Linked DNA regions of Homo sapiens: all the other regions are linked to region 1. The links are contacts of gene promoters, found by promoter capture Hi-C in blood cells and fetal thymus (Javierre and others, 2016). All regions are on one chromosome and are shown on one strand. The core of a region is centred on a gene start or on the middle of the fragment in contact, and the rest is flanking DNA. Distances in the headings are between cores, read along the strand shown.

What was found. The method cuts DNA at HindIII sites, captures the fragments that hold promoters and counts their contacts. A CHiCAGO score of 5 or more calls a contact.
Region 2: a contact is called between a fragment that was not itself captured here and the fragment with the promoter of B4GALT6 in region 1, in 1 of 17 cell types (M2 macrophages). The highest score is 5.9, in M2 macrophages.
Region 3: a contact is called between a fragment that was not itself captured here and the fragment with the promoter of B4GALT6 in region 1, in 1 of 17 cell types (M0 macrophages). The highest score is 5.6, in M0 macrophages.
Region 4: a contact is called between a fragment that was not itself captured here and the fragment with the promoter of B4GALT6 in region 1, in 1 of 17 cell types (M1 macrophages). The highest score is 6.5, in M1 macrophages.

The regions. Positions count from the first base shown.
Region 1 is chr18:31,682,748-31,686,397 of GRCh38, forward strand. It overlaps B4GALT6 (beta-1,4-galactosyltransferase 6), which reads right to left and starts at 1,834. Exons shown (of 9, transcript NM_004775.5): 1 at 1,565-1,834. The coding sequence starts at 1,679. RefSeq lists a silencer at 1,931-2,970. The HindIII fragment of the contact is 10,803 bases long and covers 1-3,650 here.
Region 2 is chr18:30,962,112-30,965,761 of GRCh38, forward strand. No RefSeq gene overlaps it. Among named protein-coding and RNA genes, the nearest start is that of DSC3, 79 kb to the right of the region's middle. The HindIII fragment of the contact is 2,065 bases long and covers 638-2,702 here.
Region 3 is chr18:30,997,279-31,000,928 of GRCh38, forward strand. All of the region lies in intron 14 of DSC3 (desmocollin 3), which reads right to left. Among named protein-coding and RNA genes, the nearest start is that of DSC3, 44 kb to the right of the region's middle. RefSeq lists an enhancer at 1-482. The HindIII fragment of the contact is 2,840 bases long and covers 161-3,000 here.
Region 4 is chr18:31,077,648-31,081,297 of GRCh38, forward strand. DSC2 (desmocollin 2) reads right to left here. Exons shown (of 16, transcript NM_024422.6): 10 at 2,449-2,705; 11 at 2,200-2,342. Among named protein-coding and RNA genes, the nearest start is that of DSCAS, 22 kb to the right of the region's middle. The HindIII fragment of the contact is 3,284 bases long and covers 303-3,586 here.

The sequences.
Region 1 (3,650 bases), core at 584-3,083:
TCAAAGTTAAATTCCTAGTAAAAAAACATACCCCAAAGATGTCCAAACTTTTAAAGAGTTACATGAGAAAGTAAAAATTGCTATAGAATGAAGAGTTAATTTATAAGACTCCAAAATGGCAAAAAATAAAGAAAGCTCTTGTTGAGTATCTAGATAATATCAAATCCACTAAGCTACCACTGTCATTTGTACTATAGGCTTCAAGGGGTAGGTTTTTGTGAGGTTTTTTGTTTTTTCTGGCCTAAAGGAAAACTGCAATAATGTTAAAATATTCTTCAAACTTTACCCTAAAACTTCTATTTTGGGATACGTCAACGTTTCACAATGCATTTCTTCTTAAACATCATCATCTGAGTTTATACACCTCACTGAATCCAAAAATTAATTATTAAAGAAAAAGTCTCATAGTAATTTTAAGAAATGAAGCAGTCTGGATTAGGTTTCCATCTTCCTTCCCTGCTGCAATTCACTGCAATAATCTACTACACTCAAGACAATGCCCTGATCATTCCATCTGAAAATTCTGCAGGTGTTTTCACTCTGTAAGGGGCATTACATTTTTAGCTAACTCGGAACAAAGAGCACTGGCTCAAACGACCACAGTGTGTAAGGAGAAATGAGAGGAGATGCTCACTGTTACTAAGTAATTGAACATTAAATACGTAATAGCCAGGAAAAACTCAGAAAAGTTTTGGAAATATGACATATTTTAATATGCATGTGAAGTTCATAATTCTCATTCACTAGAATTAACGCCGCATTGGCTCCTTTTCAACAAATGGGGGACGAGGAATTCGGATATTTAATAAAGAAGTTAATTCAAGCAGTTTTACAAAAGTGTATTTTGCACCAAAGGCCAAAAAATGATAAACCGGTTAACATTTTAAACTACAAGTTCCCTTAGATAACGGTTATTTTAATCACTATTTTCTCAGAAGTCATCCTAACAGGTAGCAAAGGCAACGTACCCTTGAAAATAACACCCAAGCAGACTAAAATAATGGAGCATTGTTTTTACAAGACAACTCATCGCCTTAAAATTCCCCAAGTATGGCACAAAAAGAATGGGGTCCACTGACCCCATTCTAAAAAAGCGACCTAGGACCCTAGAAAACACACATTGTTGGACTCAATCACATTCCCTGCTGCTGGCTCCTCCATATTTTTACAACCAGTTATTATACCCGAGAGTGTTTGAATAAAACTACGATTAAGCACTCAGTTTAGGCTTAAAGACTTAACATTAAATGGATAAAGCTGTCATGAACACTCAAGAAAGCGACTAGGGCATCCCGGGCCATCACACTAATTTTGCTACGTCTATTTAATGCAATCTTTTACGTTATTAACAAACATGCATTAACAAAATGCATGCATTAACAAAACTCACATACCAAAGCCATGCCCTGAAGCAGTTTGACACGTCTGAAATAACATTTAAAACAAAACGCTTTTCTGCGGGCCCCTGTTTGAACAGCTTCCAAATCCCAGAAGTAACATCGGATAACAGCCTGCGCTGGCTGTGGTGTGACCAGGGGAAGCGAGGGTGTGTCTCGGTGCTTACCGATGCCTGGGGCCACATAGATGAAGTACAGACAGGACGAAGAGAGGGAGAAGAAGAAGATGAAGGCGAGGAGAGAGCGATTGGAAACCCGCATCATCCGCCTGAGCACAGACATCTTCCTCTTCCCTGCCAGCAGCCCAGGCTGCGCTCTCAGGCCGGACTCGGGGCCACTGTCCAGGCCCTAAACTTCCATAAATGTGCTGAGAACCCCGAGACTGCAGCGGGGTCCGCGCGGGGAGGCTCTGGGGAGAGGGCCCGAGCGGAAAAGAGGAAATGGGAGGGAGCGGACGGAATGAATGGGAGGCCAGAGAGTCGGGGGAGGGGAGGCGCGGAGGCCGAGGGACAAGAGGTGGAGGGGGGAGAGGGGACTGGGGGCTAGGGGCCCGGGGACGGCAGGACGGAAGAAAGCCGGGGAAGGGCGAGGAGGAGCGTTTTCTCCGCCAAGCAGCGGCGGGAGGAGGGGCTGCAGGTGGGAGGAGGCGCAGGCTGCGCGCCGCGGCGCCCCTGCGGAGAGGGGCAGCTAACTGCAGCACGCCCGGCTCCGCTGCCCGCGCCCGGCGGGGTCCCGCCGCGAAGCCCCGTGCTTAAGGTCCGGGCCGCCCGCGTCCGCTCGGCAGGCCCTGCGCCGCCTCCTACTCCGGGCCGCGGCGTCTCCTGCCTGCGCGGGGCTAGCGTGGGCGCCGGGGCCGCAACCAGCGCGCGCCACGCGCGGGGGCCCGCGGGGGCCCTCGGGGCCGAGGAGCTGGGCGCTCGCCTGCACCGAGCCGCCTCCTCATGCCGCGCCGGGCCCCGGCGCCCCGCGGCCGCCGCGGGAGCTGAGCACAGGCCAGGGCGGCGTCCCGGCCAGCGACGAACGCGCTCCGACTCCGGCCGCCGCCAGCTGCCTGCCTGGCCGCAAGGGCGGCAGCGGCATTACCGCCGCGCGCCCGGGGTGAGGCGCCCCCGCCGGGCCCGCGGACACCAGGCGAAGAGCAACCGGGCGACGCGCGCTGCGGGCAGAGCCGGGGAGCCGGAAGAGCAGAGGCCGAGCGCCGTCGGAGCCGCGTCTGGTTGGAGAAAGAGGCGGACGTGAAGGGGCGGGGGAGCCGCGGAGGAAAACCGGGACCGGCGGGAACGTCTCGAGACCCCTGCGCGCTTCGCGCGCTCGCTCGGAACTCGGCAGGCGGCGCTGCGCCGGGCCCCGAGGAAACCTGGAGGTCCCCGCCCTCCCCGCGCCCGAAACACCGCGCGTCCTGATAGGCCCGCGCCCAGCAGCCCCCTCCCCGCGCCCGCCGCACCGGGGCCCCACCGCCTCCTGCGTCACCGCCGCCCCCGCCCGCCCGGGGACCCCGCGGTGACCGCGCTGCTGGGGGTTGAGGGACGCGTTGCGAGCCCCGGATACATTGTACCCTGGGGGTACATAATGAAGGATGCTGTACCTGAAAGGAAAAGGGCATCTCCAAAAGGGGACTTCGCGGGTGGAATTTCCTTCCAAAATCCTCGAGGAACAAGGTGTATTTCCGACCTGGATTAATGAATCCCCCCTCCTATCCCGCACTTCCTGTGGAAACAGTGTCAGGATGTGGCGCGGACCTATGTGCGTCCCTTATACCAGGACTTGCCTTCAACGCTGAAGGTGAACCCTGGGTCATCCTCGCTGTATTCAGGCGGCGCTGCAAAGGCTTCTGGGCAGCCAATAGGCCCTTGAGCGCCTCAGCCCCATCTTGCTTCAGTAGGCAAACGGACGGGTGTCTTCATCCACCTCCTAGGCCGTGGTCTACCCTTCGTTCAAATGTTTCTTCCTGCTAGCTGACTGTCCAGGTCCTTAGCTGTATCACATTGTTCAAATGTGTGTGCGCAGGTGTTTCTTTTTCAACTAATCATGCAGGAAGTGGCGGGATGCCTTACTGCCATTATTTGCTGAGTATTTCCAGATGGAACTGTAGTTGATAGCCAATAAATTTGGTACGTTTTTATCGGGATGCGCATGCCATAGATCGTCCCTGAGATAATGCTTTGCAATGTGGAACCTGAAACACCTATGTATAAGCCCAAGCCTTTCATTAATATTAACTGTGAGACCCCTGGAAGCTACTACTTTGTGTGA
Region 2 (3,650 bases), core at 420-2,919, 720 kb before region 1:
TCAATCATAAAATGAATATGAATCATTACACCTTGAAGTGAGAAGTTGTCATTCATATCCAAGTATCCTAAAAGGTTGTCTACAAAATAAAAAAATTGGGTATTCCAAATCTTCAAAACAATCATTCTTCCTAGTCTATAGATGCCATGGTTATCCAAAGAAATACAGGAAGTTCTATTTAGTTTCATGCTGGAATTAAGCTTAATATTTCAACATTTCCCGTTACTCTTTCATTAGGAGCAACTAACCATAAGGAGTGGAAGATGTATCTTTGTCAATGAAGTAGGCATTCAGGGTACAAATGAGATATATGTTGGCAAATTATTAGAAAAGAACCAGGTGATAAGGATTTGAAAAACCTTGCTTTCTCCTTCCTAACATGGTTTAGCTCCAGCCTGAATATTTCTTGAGTTCTTGATGAAAGCAAAATTATATCAGTCAGTGATTCAGATATAACTTCATGTTTGGAGGAGAGAGTTGTTTCCTAACAGCCACCTGAAACTCTAAGCTAACTTGCTTCTCCCTATTATAAATATGGAATTCTACAAAATCATCTGTCTCCCCTGGACCCCTATCCTAGCTACAGTTTCATTGTCACTCTTCCAGGTCCTTCTGGTTTGATACTAGTATCTTTCCAAGCTTCTGTTTAGTCTCTTCAATCTTGAGACATTGTTTCCAGACGTTTCCCTCATTTCCCCTTCCTGTCTTAATTCACACTTCCTTCCAGGAATTATCCTAGCCATACACTTTCTGCTTATAATAATTCTGTCTTCCTTCAATAAGTTTTTGTGATATTATAAAAATAACATTCCTAAGATCAATATGTTCATCTAGATATAGATGAAGAAATCTGTTAACTTGTTAAAATAGGTATTTTGGTTTTCTTTGAATTGTGCAGAAGAAACAACGTTCCACCGCCTATAAAGCAGTGCTTCTCAAACCTGATTGTGTAGAGGAGAACAGATTTTTTTCTCACCCATCATAAGGTGCATTGCTGACTCCTCATGACAAAAGGCAGTTGTTCATGTCATGGCAGCCTTCAAAAATGAAGACAGAAAGACCCAGGGAAAACCATGTATTGTTATGGACAGTCATGCAGAAGTTTGAATGGTAAGAAATTGAAGGGAAGTTGACAAGGTTTGTTTGTCCAGATCCTTCTTGGTGTTTCTGAGTGACATGCCTTTCCTCCGGTTTTAGGGCAGGACACCTTTCAAATGAGGGTGTTCAGAGGAGAAGCAGCGGAATAGATGGGAGAGGTTTCCTAGGTCTTATGACCTGCTTCAGGGGATAATGGAGGAGGAAGAGTGAGAGTGGCCTTCCTGCTTCTGCTGGTTCCTCAAATGCCAAAGAGCCCTATTTTGGGGTAGCACTTTCTGCACCACATCAACCACACACAAGAAATACATGCTGGGGCCCAAGGCCCACCTCAGGGGCTCTGATTTAAATGACTTTGGGTGAAGCCCAGTCATCTGTATTTTTAAAGTGATTCTGATATACAATCAAGGACAAAAATCTGTTGTAATGTGTTAGATTATAGAACTCTGGGTAAAAAGAGCAGCCCTGAGTAAGGAAATTACTACCAGCTCAGGTTCAGTAGAGACAAAGAAAGTACTGAGAACAGATGTTCTGAGGTAGACTTGCATGAGAAGAGGCAACAAAAATAGTCAGGGAAGCTGGGAACCAGGGAACAGGGTAGACTGTCAATGTTGAAAGAATTTAAAGGCCATTTGTGAACAATTTATACTCAAAACTAAGGACAGAATTAGTAACAGGAAGATGTTAAGGATGTATTTAATGACTTAAACTAGGAGCAGAGTGTAAACTAAGATAATGAGTCAGGCCGAAATCAAATAAAAGAGATAATAAACCTACTCTTAGAAAGAGAGATGATCAAAATTAATGCCAAATCTAGTTAGTAAAAGGAAAAAAAAAAAAAAAAAAACCAAGAAAACAAAAAGAAACCTTCCCTAGCCCCCTGAGACTACCTCTACCATCTATCTCTTCCTCTTCCCTCCACAGCCCAGGCAGCATGGCTAAGAAATACGGTCCTATTTTTAATACTTCTTTGCCTCCAGGTACTCATCCACTTGTCCACTCACAGTGGTCGGCTTTCCAGAACAAGGACTCCAGAGCCACTCTCACTAGGTTCATCTGTGACCTCTTTATTGCGATATTGCATGGGCCTCTTTCAGTAATCTTATGGGGACTCTCAAGCAGACTTTGTCAGAGTTGATTGCTCTCTTATTGAATTCCTCTCTCTTCCCTTGGCTTCTATGACATATCATCCTACTGGTTATCCTCCTATATCCTGGAAAAATCTTATTTTTTCACCTTAGTGTTCTCTTCTTACTTTTCTCAGGATCTGTCTTTAGCCCACCTCACACTCCACACTATACCCAGGCATTTTTATCAACTCCTGTGGTTCAACTGTTCTCAGAAGGCTGATGATGCACACATCTTTGTCTCCTGTACAGACACCTCCTCCAAGCTATAGAACTTGCATGTTCTCTCAGATTTTTCATGGGCACATTTACACTCAATATGTTCAAAACTGAGTTCATGATCTTTCTCTAAATTCTTATGATCAGATTCCCTTAGTCACCAATGTCAGAATTAATAAATCATTCTTGATGTTTTTTCTCCCTCTCTCCCCTATGCAAAATGCATAATCCTCCTCCACAAGGTATGGTCTAAGGACAAGAAGCTTTGACATCACCTGGGAGCTTGTTAGAAATGCAGAATCTCAGGCCTCACTTCAGACCTATTGACTCGGAATCTGTAGTTTTCAAGATCTTCTGGGTATTCTTACATACAGTAATGTATATACACTGCTCTGAAATTCACACCTTAAAAATGCCTCAAATTCAACTCCCACTCTTTATCTCTGATGTAACTATCATAAGCTGAGCTGTGGGTTCTCAAAACTTGCTGCATAGTACAATCCCTTGGGGTTTTTTTTTGTAAATACCAATGCCAGGTTCTAGACCTCCAGATTCTGATTTAATTCATCCAGAGTGGAGCCCAGGAATCTGTAAGTTTAAAAAGATCCCCAAGATGTTTCACTATGTAGCCAGAACGAAGAACCATTTATCTAAGCCAAAATCGCCCTTTAACTACATGATTATAATAGTCCTTAAACTAGTTCCTCTGTCTTCGGTCTTTCCAGCCCTCCTTATTTCCAATAGAGTGATCTTTCTTAAAATCTGTATGTAAGAACTTTCACTGGCTACTGTTGGCTCCAGCACTGAGTCTGCACAGTTCAACATCTGCCCCCTGCTTATTTATCCAAGGCCTTTTCTCGCCATAGCCTGTGCTCCCCTTGTACTCTTCTGTGTCGCAACCAACTGAGTTATTTGCAGTTCATCAAATGGACCATGGGGTTTTGTGCCATCGTCTTTGCTTTTAATGCTCCCTTTCTCTGCAGTGGCCTTCTTGGTCCTGATGCTGAAGATCTACTCTTTGCATACTCAATTTAAGCATCACCTTCTCTGTTATGCCTATCCAGACCTTACCCTTACCTCCCTGTGGTAGACCTCATCACTCCATCTCTTTGCCACTTTTACATTTAGTGCATATCTACAATACCACATTATAGTTATATTCTAATTATTTTTTGTTATTCCTAACTCTATCAGTCTACAAATTGGAAG
Region 3 (3,650 bases), core at 331-2,830, 690 kb before region 1:
TTCTTACAGTTATGAAGTCTGGGAAGTCCAAGATCAAGGAGTTCACATTTGGCGAGGGCCCATCCCATGGCAGAAGGTGGAAGGGCAAAAGAGCACGAGTGAGAGGGAGAGGGAGAGAGGGAGAGAGGAGCAACAGGGGGCTGAACTTGCTTTTACAATAAGCTTTCATGATAATAAACCCATTCTCATGATAAGGACAGTAATCCATTCATGAGAGCAGAGCCCTCATGACCTAATCACCTACTAAAGGTCTCACCTCTCAACACTGTTGCATTGGGGATTAAGTTTCCAACATATCAGCTTTTAGGGACAAATTTCACCATAGCAAATGCAAAAGCCTAGGGATATAAAGATAGACATAGTCTCTCGATGGCTCCAAGAAGATCTTATTCCAGGGAGAGAGAAAAACAAATACTTTGAGAATGTGATTACTCTACTATGTGGGTGAGCACAAAATGTTACAAGAGCACAGAAGTAGAGCATTAAAATTCAAATCCAAACAGGGTAGGTGGAATAGAACAGGTAACTGGAAAAACTCTGAGCTAAGAGACTAGGGACTAGTAGGAGTGGGACAAACAAGGCAACCACTGTAGAAGGGTCTGGAGGCAAAAGGCAAACAATGTCCTTCAGGGGTCCCCAACTTCAATCAGTTGAGAACAGCTACCACATAAGATTAGGGTTGGGGGGAGTTAGAAAGGTTATAAAAGGCCATAAGATATAAAGATCTATATGCTATGCTAAAAAAATAGACTTTATTATGAAGATCACAGGGACTGTGAAGAATTTTAACTCATTACAGAGAGAAACACATTTCAAAAATATCATTCTAGGCAATAATGTGGAAGACAAATAAGAAGACAAATTTAAGTTCATGGAGATCAGATGGGGGTCACTGCATCTGATCTGATCTGATATTCCAGGTAAAAATGATAAGGACCTAAGCCAAGGAGGAAGCAGTGATGACTGAAAGAAGTAGATGGACTCCACAGAGAGCCTACAAGTATCTAGATGGATGAGGCAATCAAGGACAGAGTTAGAAATTATTCTTTTGTGTTCCATGAAGGCAAACAGGTAGATGGTACAACTCACTGAAACAGGGAGGAAAGATGTGCTTATGGGCAAGAGGAGAGTGAGCAACTAAAGTTTGAACATGGTAAACATTAGAAACATGTGGGATGTCCAAGATGAATATATGAATATGCGGATTTGGAACTCAGATGAGAGATTTGAGCTGGAGATATAATTCTGGGAGACACTCCCAAATAGGTGATAGTTGAGGCCATGGGAATAGAGGACCTATCCAGAGAAAATTGTCAACCAAAATAAAAAAGGGCTAAGGATAGAACCACAAGAAAAATCACATTTTAAGGGGAGGGTAAGAGAAACACAGCTGTGACAGGCCAGATCTGAATAGCCACTGAGATAACAGAGAAAACCAAAGTGGCAGGACCCTGAAGCCATGAAGAGAGAATATGGTAAGGAGTGGGAGCAGCCAATGATGTTAACAACAACAACAGAAAAATCACAGCAAGGTAAGAATGGGTTCAATTAAAGTATAAGCGCCCATTGGATTTAAGTGAAAGAATAGCCATTGATGAGCTTTGCCAAAAGAATTTCCAGGGAGTGCTGGGTAAGCAGGAAGGAGTATTATAGAGAAATCAAATATAATTTTTTCTTTCCTAAAGTTCAGTTTGAAAGAAAAAGAGAGATGTGGAGGGAACTAGAGGATGACAAAGAGTCAAGGAAATGCTTTAAAATGAAAAAGTCTTCATTAAACATTAACTTAATACTGGAACTTCACTCCGACCCTCTGAGCCATAGGACAGAAGTTTAGTTACAGTGGTAACCTCGACATGTCAGTTTTCATTACAAACAGTTACATTACTTTCAGGACAAGAACCTCCATTACATTCAGGTTCCTTTGTGCCACCTTCCTATCAATTTAAATTTTTTTCTACTTAAAATGCAGTCTTTAACTAAATTGAAAGATTTTTCAAATACAGATGATTTATTGAACCTGAAATATATCTACAAAAGTCATACTTACTGTCGCATTGCCTTAGAAAAAAATACCAGAAAAAAAGAATTGAAAAGTAGCCATTTGGTGGCAGTGCTACCCTACATTTTTTTATTTAAGTTGCCATTACAATAAAATTCAATTACAAAAAAGGAAAAAAAAAAACCCTCCTAATTATTAAATCTTCTTGATGGTATAATTTCGTTGTAATAAACACAAGTTCAAAGATCATATTTCTAAGTGAATAAAAGAGGAATTTAAAATAAACTAAAAGCAATGCTGAGCCTACAGGGCTAGCTTTCATACTTTTATTCTCTGCTCCTTTCTGTCCTCCTCCATCCACATTTCCCAAAGTTCCTTCTCACAGGGTATCAACAACTCTTTATCCATGTCAATAATTTCTAGGTTTACTTTTCCAGTCCTGATTATTCACCCAACTCCTAATCCCATGTGCATGCCTTCAAGTGAAATTCAGATCCAAAGCTAAAATGATCACTTTTACTCATTGTATTAAAGCAAGTTTATAGATTCAAGATGAAATTTTATGTTTTTGTATAAATTAATAATTCCAAGCCCCTTTTAGAAGTGTTCCTAACACAGAACAGGTACATATTGTGAAATGGCCACTCAATATCATCAGCTCTAGCATTAAATGGCAAAGAACAGATATTAAGTAAAAGTCATCCATGCCGGTCTTAAAAATAAAATAAGAACTTACTATGAGTCAAGGACTGTCAAGGGATTAAACCTGCTTTCTCGCTGGAGAGATCATCACAGGTTTCTACATGTAGGCACGTCAAGCATAGATGGGCTATGATTTTGCATGGTGGTGTGGAGGAGTTGAAGAGAGAAATAGTGAATAAGAAAGGCATCTTCACCCCGAGACATAGAAAAGGCTGGATATGTAGTCGTTGTCCCTGGCTATAGCCTCTGCCACTTTGACTCTGCTTTTTACTTTGTTCCTTAAGTTCAGTCAGTCAACAAGCTTATCCTTTATACCTTTGAAATATTTCTTATTCATCCCTATCTTAATATAACAATTACCATCATCCTGGTAGAATTAACTCATGCTTAAACTAAGCTTTCATCTTCCCCAACCCTGATGTCTTCCTATTCTCACTGATCCCCCTACTGACTCAGCTTCACGCTGCTTGATTATACCTCTCTCCTGTAGAAAAGCCTTGGCTGGCTCTCCTTTACCATGAGAATAAATCCGAAATCCTTAGTGCAGCATTTAGAAGTCCTATCTCCCACTTGTTTCTTAATATTCTCTTCTCTAACACCGAACTTGTTTCAAGCCTCTTTTCCAACACATGATTTCTTCTATTCTAAATCAATTTATTTATTATTTGCTAAATAGCCCCTAAACTTTATCATCTCCTGTCTTGTAGGCTATGCTGTTTTCCTCTTCTTTAGCTATTCTCACCGTCTCTTCACTTTCAAACCCTTCTTATTCTTTAAGTTACCAAGTAAGCTGTACCTCTTGTCACCAGCCTTTCTGGTTGATCCAAACTACATGAGTACATTTAGGTATCATAGGTGTTTTTGAACTCTGACAGTGCTTTATCATATTGGTTTATTGTCATGTTCCTATTTTGCTTTTCCATAAAGTAGGATCTATTTCTCATAAATA
Region 4 (3,650 bases), core at 695-3,194, 600 kb before region 1:
TTATTCATTGGAATGTCAGCATAAAATGCTCATCTTCTAGTAATAATATAATTCTACATGGACAAAGGCTAATTCCAAATATGAAGTCACATGAGGTGCACTATCCATGGTTTCATGCTTTATGTGCATGATGCTCTTCAGTCAAATGTTTTAAAATAGTTGCAAGTAACCCCATTCTAACAGCTGGAATAATACAATAGAAACATTAATCTCAAGCTCAACTAGATAGAGGTGATTTCTGGGTAAAGCTGCCCACACAATTTAGATTAAGAAGTTAAGAAGAAAAGATAAATTGAATTTAAAGCTTAAGAAATATATATGTTTAGGAGAGGGGAAGGCAGTTAAGACCAGAAAGCATGCAGGAATGTGTGGGCAAGTTTAGACATAGAAGCCTTGAGAGAGAGTTTTAAAAAGAGGAAGCAATTGCTGCGGAGATGTAGGAAGGCAGGAAGTGAGCACCAGCCCAAGACAGCAGTATCCATGAGGGAGGAGAGGTTTCCATTAGGGAGTGGCAGGGAGAACCCAAATGAAATTAGCCAGTATAGATTTTAGAAAAAGGTTTTTCAAAAAATGACACACTTTTGTATAATCTCATTTCATTCAATTCACAAAGTAAACACATGTGGAATTACTGATTCACAGTTCTCTCACACAGAGTAACACAATGACTCCCACCCTCTTCAAAAGAAATGAATGCGAACAGCCTCATTACACATTTATTCTATATCACAATGATGATAAGCAGTGCCCCATCTCAATTCCATAACAAATATTTGATCTCTCAATCACTTAAACTCCTCTGCAACAGACGAGAATGTAGAATAAAATTATAGGCAAAATTTCTAATTTCAGACAGCAATTTTTATCTCAACTGTCAATAAACTATTTCCAAGTGCCGTTGAGTTTCATGTTTTTTTTTTCTTTTCATTTGCCTTTGACCAACAAGTATTTCTTGGCAAAAAGACATGAGAATCTGAGGCCTTAAAGGACAGTCTTTAATTAGTTAAAGACAAATCAATAATGATTACAACTTCAGCAATTTAACAAACTGAGTCATTTCTCATTAATTTACAGAGAACTGGAATACATAAATCATCTTCCAAAATCACTTCTAAATTCTAATTTTGCAAGTTATAGTATAATAATTTGTTTGTTATATTTAGCATATTTATTTTACAAAGACATAAAGTTCAAATTCATGTTATAGAAATTATATTTTATGCACCAAACGCGTCTCATAAATAATCATCATACTCATATTTCTCTCAATTTTATAGAATGCACAGAACATAATTTTACATTTTATATGATTATATGAATTCATAGTGTTTGTCTCTCTAATTTTATAATATACTATTTATTTACCATGATCATAAATATACCATGATTTATTTTTATATAATGTCTTTAATCAGAATTCTAACCCCCAAGTATATTGTTAGCTTCCTGTAAAAAGTTAGAGCTGTTTTCCAGGACTGCACTGTGTAAGTATGTTTTCCAGGACTGCACTATGTAAGTATGTTCTCACTTTCCTACAAAGTGAACACTTTAAGCGAAATAAGTAGATAAACTGAAACAAGTTTTGTTTTTGTTTTTGTTTTGTTTTTGTTTTTGTTTTTGTTTTGAGACAGAGTCTTACTCTGTCGCCCAGGCTAGAGTGCAGTGGCGCGATCTTGGCTAACTGCAACCTCCACCTCCTGGGTTCAAGCAATTCTCCTGCCTCAGCCTCCCGAGTAGCTCGGATTACAGGTGCATGCCACTACACCCAGCTAATTTTTAATATTTTTGGTAGAGACGGGATTTCACCATGTTGGCCAGGCTGGTCTCGAACTCATGACCTCAAGTGATCCTCCAGCCTTAGCCTCCCAAAGTGCTGGGATTACAGGCATGAGCCACCACACCCAGCTGAAACAAGTTTTACTAAAATAATTTTCTCAATTTTTAATAATTTTAACTTTAATAAATTATGGTCTCAAGTGTTTCTAAGAGTAAATTATTTTATAATTACATCTAAAACTGAGAAGGCTATTAGAAAGCAGACATGAGTTAATAAATTATAGTAAACCTCTTACTTTATATTATCAAGAGATATGAAAACAGAGTGCATGTATCCAGCTTTAAAATGTATACTGTTGGCTTAAACACTGAAGATGTATGTAGCCAAGGAAGTATGTAGCTGGCTTAAAGACAAATTCTTACCTTGGTCTGATGCAAGGACTGTAATATTATATATGCCATTTTTGATGGTCTCTGCCTCTCTATCCAGGCTTCTGAAAACTTTGATTGATCCTGTATTTTCATCAATGGTGACCCACCCTGTTGGATCAGTTAATTTCTTATACCTGTTGGTAATGATGAATTAAAATAATAAAATTTATCATATGCTAAATTATAATAACGTAACAAAATAAGCTATATATTTTAAAACTAAAATAGAATGGTAAGTACCTTATGCCACTGCTACTTCTTGTTTCTGGGTCATATGCTTTATATCCATTGCTTGTTGTTCCCACTTCTGCATTTTCTTTCATGCGAACAGTCTGTATTGGAGGGTTACACTCAGGGCCCTCATCCTGATCTTCTACATTAACAGTAACTGTTGCTGTGCTCATGGCTGATCTTGGACTAGCCTCTCTGGAAAATGGAGCTTCATTAACTACACCAATTTGCAAGATCATCTGTTGCTTTTCTTCATAATTCAAAGGCTACGAAAGCAAATGTATTGAAAAATCAGATGAACTCATTTAATATTTGGCAATGCTAACGAGTATATATAATGTTAAATTTGGAAATATGTTAAGTGTCATGTTGGGAATAACCACGAGAATATGAAACATATATCCAGTGATATGGTTTGGCTCTGTGTCGCCACCCACATCTCATGTCAAATTGTAATTCCCAATGTTGGGGGAGGGACCTGAGGGAAGGTGATTGGATCATGGGGGTGGATTTCCCCACTGCTCATGATAGTGAGTGAGTTCTCACAAGATCTGGTTGTTCAAAAGTGTGTAGCACATCCCCCTTTGCTCTGTCTCTCCTGTTGCCATGTGAAGATGGGCTTGCTTCCCCTTTGCCTTCCGCCATGATTATAAGTTTCCTGAGGCCTACCTAGTCATGCCTCCTACACAGCCTGTGGAACTGCGAGTCAGTTAAACCTCTTTTGTTTATAAACTATCCAGTCTCAGGTAGTTCTTTATAACAATGTGAGAACAGACTAATACACCCAGAAACCCAGTGGTGGTGGAGACAGAGGAGTTCTCCCACTGATTCAGTACTTGGGTAAAGCTGGAAAAAAAAAAGGACAGAAAATTGTTCTTCAACTGCAAATTTAAGATAAGTAGTATAACAGGTATTGATGAAGATTTCAGAGAGTATTTAATGAGGGTTCTTGGATATTAATACATGAGATACTCCTTTAGGGGATTCATACTATAAACAATAGTTATTTACTACAAAATAAATTTTAGGACAGCTTGTCTTACCCTCCTAAGATGAATAAAATTATTTGTACCTGGTATGAGGAAGAGAAAAAAATGGGTAAATTTTTTTAAAATGCTTTTAAGAGGAGCAAGACAAGAAAATACAAAGCTTATGGGCATCATATTTTCTTTTTTTATGTGTGTCTTCCATTCCAGTTCCTGTCTTAAAGA